Linked DNA regions of Homo sapiens: regions 2 and 3 are each linked to region 1. The links are contacts of gene promoters, found by promoter capture Hi-C in human tissues and cell types (Jung and others, 2019). All regions are on one chromosome and are shown on one strand. The core of a region is centred on a gene start or on the middle of the fragment in contact, and the rest is flanking DNA. Distances in the headings are between cores, read along the strand shown. Region 1 holds the start of TJAP1 (tight junction associated protein 1). Region 2 has its middle 9.8 kb from the start of RRP36. Region 3 overlaps PTK7 (protein tyrosine kinase 7 (inactive)).

Evidence for each region. Contacts are between HindIII fragments. The study calls those that stand out against the background at their distance.
Region 2: a fragment that was not itself captured here is called in contact with the fragment with the promoter of TJAP1 in region 1 in 2 of the 25 tissues and cell types used here (lymphoblastoid cells and pancreas).
Region 3: a contact is called between a fragment that was not itself captured here and the fragment with the promoter of TJAP1 in region 1, in 1 of the 25 tissues and cell types used here (liver).

The regions. Positions count from the first base shown.
Region 1 is chr6:43,475,926-43,479,268 of GRCh38, reverse strand. TJAP1 (tight junction associated protein 1) reads right to left here and starts at 1,699. Exons shown (of 11, transcript NM_001350562.2): 1 at 1,641-1,699; 2 at 1,037-1,182. RefSeq lists an enhancer at 556-1,349. The HindIII fragment of the contact is 19,262 bases long and covers 1-3,343 here.
Region 2 is chr6:43,029,706-43,033,048 of GRCh38, reverse strand. No RefSeq gene overlaps it. Among named protein-coding and RNA genes, the nearest start is that of RRP36, 9.8 kb to the right of the region's middle. The HindIII fragment of the contact is 7,304 bases long and covers 1-3,343 here.
Region 3 is chr6:43,130,517-43,133,859 of GRCh38, reverse strand. PTK7 (protein tyrosine kinase 7 (inactive)) reads right to left here. Exons shown (of 20, transcript NM_002821.5): 5 at 3,199-3,343; 6 at 1,696-1,844; 7 at 1,173-1,439. Among named protein-coding and RNA genes, the nearest start is that of SRF, 39 kb to the left of the region's middle. RefSeq lists enhancers at 794-1,293, 1,294-1,795. The HindIII fragment of the contact is 9,413 bases long and covers 1-3,343 here.

The DNA of each region.
Region 1 (3,343 bases), core at 450-2,949:
GCAGACAGTAAATGAAGAGTTCTAGATCAAACCATCCTAGTCCACCATGAAGCGATGCTGATCCTGAAGCAGGCTTCAATAAGAAGGCTACTCCCAACTCTGGCTAGGGCAAAACACTCACCAAAGGAAGTGAAGGCCACATTCACTGTGTTCTCTGGCTCCAGTCCCTTTCCTTTCTCTCCAACACCAAATCCACTACCTCTCAGGCCATGCTTAGTTTGGCTACTGAGACTGATATTTTTCAAAAGTGGTTTGATGGGAAGATTACAAAGGAGAGAAAAAAACTACCAGAAAAGAAAAGAGCAAGTTCCATGATCCTTTCTTTGCATCACCACACTTGTCCAACTGTAAAGTAGCTCTCAAATATTAGGGGTCTCAAGGATAGGCAGTGCGGTGCTAAACATTCCCAGAGCTTTACATCAGTCCACTTGATCTCTTACCAGAAACTGATCTACATTTTTTCTCTCTAATCCCAACCTGCCTTTCCCTCACCTCTGATACCCCCACCAAAATCCACATCCCCAGAGGAACACTAATGAGCCCTTCTTACCAAAAAAGCAAAAGTAGACACACAGCGAGAATGAATTCAGGAGTCAGTGACAGCAGGTACCTAAATGGTCAGTGAACACGATCAGAATTTGTTTTCTCGTGACTCCCCACCATCTGTCACCCACAAATCTCCACTTCCAGGCAGGACGCCAAAGTGAAGAAGTGATGGGGATATTGAAGCAGAAACAATGAGCATGTAGGAAACTGCTTGTGACAGGGATGTGTTAACATCCTTCGGCCTGGTCTCTAGGCCTCTGTCCAGGTTTACTTGCATAGGTGAAGGCACACAAGGCTTAATTCTACACCAACTCTCAAAAGTCAGCCTGCAATCTACGCCAAACACTAACTTAAGGACCTCAGACAAAGGACAAACTCTATAAAAGTGAGCCCTTTTCAGACCAAATGTTTCTTGGCATCACTCTAAGCCCATGCATCCTCCTCCCAGGGAGCATGCCAGCCAGAAACCTGTCACTGGAAGCCACCTTACCCGCTCTGGGGTTGGACTGGGGCAAGTCGCTATCTCTTCTTCTTTCCAAGTAGGCACTGTAATTTCTTCCAGTCCCTGGGGCACCTGAATCTTCAGCTGAAATTGGGGCAGATGCTGCTAACAGCTGTGGAAAGGCTGATCTAAGCCTAGAAGAGGGTCATTTGACTGGCTTTAGTTCCCTCCTTAGCAGATCTGCCCGGCATCCTCCAGATCTCTCTTCCTCACTATCCCACTCTACTAGAAAGATCCCTTTCCCCTCTGGCCGGCCAGATACAGTCGGGCCTCTATCCCACGCTCCAGGCTTCTTTATTCGCGGCTAAGAAATTTTCCTCCAACTTGTGACTCTGCTTCTCCAGGGCCTGCACAACACCTACTTCTGGCTGCCCCGCCCCCAAATCCCCCTCCCCTAGGGCTGCCACTGGACCCTAGGGCCCCGGTCCGCCCCAGCTCCTTTTTTTCCTCTCCGCCTCGGACCTTACTCCATTCCATCTCCTCTTTTCAACCCTGGAGCCAGTACCCCCTTCGCCCCTACTACAGGCTAGGGCCCCCGCAATCCTCCCCAACTCTGGCTTCCCCGCCCGACTACTCCAACCCCACAACAAACTTTCCGCCGCTGCCAGCTGCGTTCAGGCCGCCATCTTGCCGCGGGGCAGGCCGGGTAGTGGCCAGGGCCGCGGGAATCCCCACGCACTTGGCGTGTCGCGTCATCTGAGGCGGGGCCATGGGGGCGGGGCCTCGGGTTGGGGAGGTGGGACACTAGGTAGGTGATGGTGAAAAATGGGGCTCTCCTGAAAGCAGGGATTGGAGGACTGGCCACAGAAGGAAGGAGGTGTCAGGAGCAGGGCAATAGCGGGAAGCGGGGAAAGAATCCAGTACTGAAAGAAAAAAAAAAAAAAAAAGAATAGGGGAACACATCTCAAAGATACAGTGGGAGAGAGAATCGTGCTACTGGTTCCCCGTCATCCAGAGAATAAAACCAGCTTTTCAGTTTGGCATTCAAAGATCCGCATGATCCAGGCTCTTCCACCTTCATCAGCCTCATTTTTTGCCTCTCCTGGGAACTTCAGGTTCCCAAATTGTCCTTTGTTTTCAGGACATCGGGCCTTAAGATGTCTAATCTCTCTCCTCCTCCTTTGCATCATCAATTCCTCCTATTCCTTCAAACCATCAGCTAAAATGTCACCTCCCCCAGAAAGATTTCCCTTTAGTGCTCCTTTTGCTGGGCATCACTAGCAACTTGTACATAGCTTTACTGTAGCTGTCCCGTGCAGTGTAATTATTTATTTACATGTTATACCACTTTTGCCCTGCTGCTTCTTCAGGGCAAAAACTATGTTTGATTGCATCTTCATACTCCCTAGCAGGTGCTTGGCACACAATAATTGCCTAATGAATAAATGGCATGTTTTCCTCCAATGCATTAAGCATATTTCTGCCTCAGGGTCTCTAAATTTGCTATTCCCCATACCTGGAATGTTCTTCCTCCAAATATTGACTCTCATTTGTGTCTTTGCTCAAGTGTCATCACTTTAGAGAAGCCTTCCTTGGCCACTCAATCTAAATCAGCATCCCTATTCTCCTTTACCCTGCTTTAATGTTTTCATTCATAGTACTTATCATTATCTGACATTATATTAAATATTTATTGTTTATTGATCATCTCCCCACTACAAAGCAAACTCCAGAGGTCTGGGATGTTTTCTTGCTCATCACAGTATCCCCAGTGTCTAAAACAATGCCTGGCATAGTAGGTATTCAATAGATTTTTTTTATTCTGTTTGTTTAATTAATTAATTAATTTTTGAGACAGGGTCTCACTCTGTTGCCCAGGCTGGAGTGTAGTGGTGCGATCTCGGCTCACTGCAACCTCCGCCTCCCGGGTTCAAGTGATTCTCCCACCTCAGTTTCCTGTGTAGCTGGGATTACAGGCGCATGCCAGCTAATTTTTTGTATTTTTAGTAGAGATGGGAGTTCCACCATTCCACCATGTTGGCCAGGCTGGTCTCGAACTCCTGACCTCAAGTGATCCACCTGCCTCAGCCTCCCAAAGTGCTGAGATTACAGGTGTGAGCCACTGCACCGGCCAGTAAATATTTATTGAATGAATAAATGGTATGGAGGTTGGTGATTGACAGATTTTGGAATATACTGGTGGAGAAGAGGGGTTGAAAATACTATAAAATAAGAAAATGCATAGATGGAAGTTACATGACCTCAAGGCCCCACTTAGCACTAACAGGAATGGTAGCAAAGACAAGCCCCAGACTCAGCAAAGGAGAGAGTGAGATGAGGATCAGGTGGAATTCT
Region 2 (3,343 bases), core at 522-3,021, 450 kb after region 1:
TCTCCTGACCTCATGATCCGCCCTCCTCGGCCTCCCAAAGTGCTGGGATTACAGGTGTGAGCCACCGTGCCCGGCCCAAGAGCTGCCTTTTTTTAGATACAGGATCTCACTGTGTTACCTAGGCGGCAGTGCAGTGGCTGTTCACAAGCGCAATCACTGCATACTACAGCTTTGAACTCCTAGTCTCAAGTGATTGTCCCACCTCAGTCTCCTAACTGGGGGCATAGAGCTGCTTTTAAGGTAGGCATTCTTTCTTTAAGAAAGGGTCTTGCTCTGTCACCCAGGTTGGAGTACGGGTGGCACAATCACGGCTCACTGCCTCGACCTCCCAGGCTCAAGTGATCCTCCTGCCTCAGCCGCCTGAGTATTCTTTGTAGAGATGCAGTTTCACCATGTTGCCCAGGCTGGATAGACTTTCAAATGTTCCTGGCTTATGATTTATCTAGCCTTAAAAAAAAAACAAAAAAAACAAAAAAAAAACTAGGCCAGGTGCGGTGGCTCACACCTGTAAACCTATCACTTTGGGAGGCCTAGGTGGGTGGATTACTTGAGGTCAGGAGTTTGAGACCAGCTGGCCAACACGGTGAAACCCCATCCCTACAAAAAAAAAAATTAGCCAGGTGTGGTGGCATACACCTGAAATACCAGCTGCTCAGGGAGCTGAGGCAGAAGAATAGCTTTAACCTGGGAGGAAGAGGTTACAGTGAGCCAAGATCGTGCCACTGCACTCCAGCTTGGGCGACAGAGGGAGACCCCATCTCAAAAAAAATTCTAGAAAATGCCCAGCCTCTTTGAAATATTCTTTCCTGAAATTTTGATTGTCAAGTCTCACATTTATCTTCATTTTGTTGTTTTATAGACAGGATCTTGCTCTGTCACCCAGGCTGGAGTGCAGTGATGCCATCATAGCTCACTGCAACCTCAAGTTCCTGGGGTCAAGCAATCCTCCAGCCTGAGCCTCCAGAGAAGCTGGGACTATAGGCATGTGCCACATGTCTGATTTTTTAATTTTTTTTTAGAGACAAGGTCTCCTTATGTTGCCCAGGCTGGTCCCCAACTGAGGACCTCAAGCAGTCCTCTCTATGCCTCCCAAAAAGTTGGGATTACAGGTGTCAGCAACTACACCCAGCCTCTTCCATGTTTTTTAACCTCTTTTCCTTAGTTTCCACTTCTCTGTATGTCAGTGCTCTCTCTGTGTAACTTCAGATCTATTTCCAGTTCATTCTCCCTTTAGGGAGAAGTCTAATCTGCTGCTTAACCATAAAGTTTCTAACTTCTCGTAGTGTACTTTTTTTTTTCTGAGGTGGAGTATCACTCTTGTTGCCCAGGCTGGAGTGCAGTGGCGCAATCTTGGCTCACCGCAACCTCCGCCTCCTAGGTTCAAGCAATTCTCCTGCCTCAGCCTCCCAAGTAGCTAGGATTACAGGCATGCGCCACCACGCCCGGCTAATTTTTTGTATTTTTAGTAGAGACGGGGTTTCACCATGTTGGCCAGGCTAGTCTCGAACTCCCAACCTCAGGCGATCCACCCACCTCAGCCTCCCAAAGTGCTGGGATTACAGGCACGAGCCACCATGCCTGGCCCTACTTTTCATTTTTAAAAGGTTTTCTTTTTAAGTTTTACTTTTTTTTTTTTTTTTTTTGAGATGGAGTCTCGCTCTGTTCCCCAGGCTGGAGTGCAGTGGCACGATCTCGGCTCACTGCAAGCTCTGCCTCCCAGGTTCATGCCATCCTCCTGCCTCAGCCTCCAGAGTAGCTGGGACTACAGGCACCCGCCACCACGCCTGGCTAATTTTTTGTATTTTTAGTAGAGATAGGGTTTCACTGTACTAGCCAGGATGGTCTCCATCTCCTGACCTCGTGATCCACCCGCTTTGGCCTCCCAAAGTGCTGGGAACACAGGCGTGAGCCACCGTGACCGGCCTTAAGTTTTACTTTTTAATCACACCAGTTTAGTACCTTTTGATATTCATTTGTCACACTTTTTCTTTAAACATAAGACATTTTGTATTTTTTATTTTATACTTCTCACATTTTAATTTTTGCCAGTCTGGACGACAGAGTGAGACTCCATCTCAAAAACAAAAAACAAACAAAAAAAAAACAATCCTCAAGAAAGGATTACATTTGCTTCTGCCAGGACCCTGGAGACACTATCTACTTGAGACTTTTTTTTTTTTTGAGACGGAGTCTCGCTCTGTCGCCCAGGCTGGAGTGCAGTGGCGCGATCTTGGTTCACTGCAACCTCCGCCTCCCGCGTTCAAGCAATTCTCCTGCTTCAGCCTCCTGAGTAGCTGGGATTACAGGCGCCCACCACCACACCCGGCTAATTTTTGTATTTTTAGTAGAGACAGGGTTTCACCATGTTGGTCAGGCTGGTCTCGAACCCCTGACCTCGTGATCCACCTGCCTCTGCCTCCCAAAGTGCTGGGATTACAGGTGTGAGCCACCATGCCTGGCCATTTTTTTTTGGGGGGGGGGGCGCGGTGGTGATTTCACTCTTTTTGCCCAGGCTGGAGTGCAGTGGTGCGATCTTGGCTCACTGCAACCTCTACCTCCCAGGCTCAAGTGATTATCCTACCTCAGCCTCCTGAGTAGCTGGGATTACAGGCACCCACCACCACACCCAGCTAATTTTGTATTTTTAGTAGAGATGGGGTTTCACCATGTTGGCCAGGCTGGTCTTGAACTCCTGACCTCAGGTGATCCGCCTGCCTCGGCCTCCCAAAGTGGTGGGATTACAGGTGTGAGCCACCACGCCCAGCCTACTTGAGACTATTTTAAACTAAGTTATCAGCCTGAGGATTTTCCAGACCACATGGGTTATAAACTCTTGTCCCAAACAGTACTGAAGGCCAGCTGTGCTTGTATATTACCATGGAAGCTTTATATCCCTACCTCTTAACATCCCTTGCATCCAAAACCAAAGCCAAGTAGGGGAGTTGTGGGATTGGTTCACCCACTAAATGATCTTGTCATCCTTGAGGGGCCCAGATTTAAGTGGGAGGGGTTTCTGATCTGACTTCCCAGTTGTAGATGCCTTAGGCTTTATTGCCTATCCCAATATGTGGCCCACTAAAAAGTAGTTCTAGGCTACCCACAAATCCCACATAAAAGCAGAGGCCTTAAGGCCGGAACGGTGGCTCAACGCCTGTAATCCCAGCACTTTGGGAGTCTGAGGCAGGCAGATCACTTGAGGCCAAGAGTTTAAGATCAAACTAGCCAACATGGCAAAACTCTATCTCTACTAAAAATACGAAAGAAATTAGCTGGGCTTGGTGGCGGATGTCAGCTACTCGGGAGGCTGAGGCACAAGAATCACTTGAACCTGGGAGGTGGAGGT
Region 3 (3,343 bases), core at 500-2,999, 350 kb after region 1:
GGAATACTAGCATCACAACTTCACATTTACAAAGCCACTTTCATATTCAAATCTTTTTGCAAAGTTACCCACTCGGAAAGATAATAGTAACATAAAGGTAAGTGGAAGAAGCAGATTGCAAAATAGTTTGTATGTATGTGTGTCTCTGTGTGCATATTGTAATTTTTATTGTGTATCCTTTTAAACTACCACAAAAGGTTTGGAACAAGGCATGGTATAAAGAAATAAGTAAACAAATAAATCCCTATGCCTGTAGTGAGGATATAAGGTTTGTTTTGTTTTGTTTTGAGATGGAGTCTCACTCTGTTGCCCGGGCTGAAGAGCAACGGTGCGATCTCAGCTCATTGCAACCTCTGCCTCCTGGGTTCAAGCAATTTTCCTCCCTCAGCCTCCTGAGTAGCTGGGATTACAGGTGTGCCCCACCACGCCCAGCTAATTTTTGTATTTTTAGTAGAGATGGGGTTTCACCATGTTGGTCAGGCTGGTCTCCAACTCCTGACCTTGTGATCCGCCCGGCTCGGCCTCCCAAAGTGCTGGGATTACAGGCATGAGCCACCGCGCCCAGCCTGATATAAAGGGTTTATCATGTGTACTTTCAGTCATATGTCTTGCTTTTCTCCCCCTCTTTTTTTTCATAAGTAATATGTTTAGTAAAGAAATTTGGAAAGCATAACAAACTAAAACAAATTAAAAATCACCTATAATTTTGTCCACTATTACCTCCCAAAAAAGAAAAAAAGAAAAATCATTTTCATCTACTTCATTTGACCTTTCCAACCACCTTGTGGGGTAGGTAGTAGATTACTGGCTCCATTTTATGGATGAGGAGACTGAACCCCAGTAAGGTGGGTGATTTGCTACCATCGTCACTCTGTGCATTGGGAGCATAGTGGGACCCAGGTCTCTAGATTCCTAGTCTATTGCTCTTTCCTCTGTACCCAGAGGACCATTTTTCTGTGAGGGCTGTCACTATTTCCTCTGGAGCACCCACCCTAACCCCTGTGCCTGGCTCTCTACTGTCTACACCGACTCCCAGTAGTGAACTGATTCCCAAGCCTGCAGGGCCCAGAACTGAGAGGACCTCAGGTGAGTACCAGGGAAGCCTCTGTCCATCACACCCAGACCTGTGTTCCCCTCCACCTCTCCTTGACCTTCAGGGCAAAGGTGCTCACTGGCCACAGTGATGTTGACATCCTGTCTCCGCTGACCAGCCAGGTTGGCCGCGTGGCAGGTGTAGACACCAGCATCACTTTCAGCAATATTGGCCAACACCAGCTCGTGGCCCTTCTGGTAGACCCTGCCATGGGTGGGCAGCCGGACTCCCGCGTGCTCCCACCACACGCTGGGCTCTGGCAGACCCTTGGGGGGAAGGCAGGTCACACGCTCCTCGCTGCCAGCTGTAAACACCCGTGGCTCAAATAGCGGCATGTCTTCAATCTCTGCAAGGACATAAGTAGGAGGAATGGCCCAATTATTGTGGGTCTCAGGGTACATGATGTTCTCCCACAGCAAGCCTAGGCCCTTTCCCAGCACAAACCCTCCCCTGCAGCCCTCTGCATATCCTCTTCCTACTCCCAGCATCCTTTTCTTCCCCTGCCCTCCAAGCGGCTGAGTAAAAACAGAAGCCTAAATCTCTATGTGCCAAAAATGTTAAAGGCAGCCTCCCACATCAGCACCCCAGACCCAGAGACTCACCTGCTAGGTGAAGTGTGGCTTCCAGGATGATGGGTGGGCCCCTCTGCCCCTGGCCAATGCAGCGGTAGATCCCTGCATTGCGTGGCCGGACCTGGGTCAGCAGCAGAGACCCGTTGGCAAACACTGTGGCTCTGCGGAGGTGTGGGGGGCTGCAGAGGGGAGAGTGCAATTTGGAGAAAGTGGCCAATAGGCCTAGTTCTGGAAAGGAATGCAAGGGAACCCCTTTCCTGCAAAGTCGGAAATGTAGTAAGGAATCGACCAGGAACAGGGCAGAGAGAAGGAAGCTGACACTCCAGACTGGTGTGTGTGCCTGCATACACTTGCTCAGGTGCACGTGCAGGTGTGTGTTCCAACTACAGGAGATCAGCTCGGGAAGCAATGAGGCAAATGGCAATGCAGGTGCGAGAGAGAGTGATATGGTTTGGCTGTGTCCCCACTCAAATCTCATCTTAAATTGTAGCTCCCATAATTCCCACATGTTGTGGGAGGGACCCAGTGGGAGGTAACTGAATCATGGGGGCAAGTCTTTCCCGTGCTGTTCTCATGATAGTGAACAAGTCTCACGAGATCTGATGGTTTTAAAATGAGGCATTCCCCTGCAGAAGCTCTCTCTCCTTTGCCTGCTGCCATCCATGTAAGACGTGACTTGGTCTTCCTTGCCTTCTGCCATGATTGTGAGGCTTGCCCAGCCATGTGGAACTGTAAGTCCAATTAAACCTCTTTCTTTTGTAAACTGCTCAGTCTCGGGTATGTCTTTATCAGCAGCATTAAAATGGACTAATACACAGAATAACCACCATGTGCAACTGTCAAGACAGGGAAGCCACCTTCCCACAGGGCCACGTTGATAGGGCACCCAGCTCCAGGGTCAGATACCCCTCAGCCATACCAGGCAGGCTACTGATGATGTCCTCAGGGCTGAAGCCAAGTGGCATCCAAGCCCCTAGCCTAGGAAGCCACACCCCCAAGGACCATGGTCGTGCCTGACACTGCAAAGGTGTTCTATGTTCTCCTAGGGTCCAGGCAAGAACAGAAGTCCCTGCAGTAGGGCTGGAACCTTCTAGAGGTGTTTGCTTCCTCTAAAAAGTGTGTGTGTGTGTGTGTGTGTGTGTGTGTGTGTGTGTGTGTGTGTGTGATGTCTTTGCCACACTGGATCACGCTATCTAGACTATGACCACCTGACTACCTAGGTCTCTTGTGTCTCTCTCATCCCTGGGGTCTCTACCCTTCCATCCCAGAAGACCCATGTGGGTGGTGGGGAGAGAGAAGTGGAACCATCACTAGCTCAGAGTGCCTTTGTGCAAACTGGAAAAGGGCTCTTCCCAGAGACTCTTCCCTGTGTCAGACTCATCTTGTAAAAGCAAAACATTCAACTGTGTCTCTTGGAAATTTGAAATAATACATGTACAAATCTGTGATGTCTGTGATACAAATCGCACCCCCTTCTACAGAATGCATGTGTGTGGTACATGGTACTGGAATGCTCCCAGCCAGATGCCTTACCGACTGCGGTTAGTGATGGGAGTCTCATCCTCAAAGAGCCACTGCAGGCTCGGGGGTGGCTGGGCTGAGAACTGGCAATGGAACATGGCCTCCTCATACCTCGCTACTACCACGTCCTGGGGTGCCAGCACCACCCTGGCAAAGC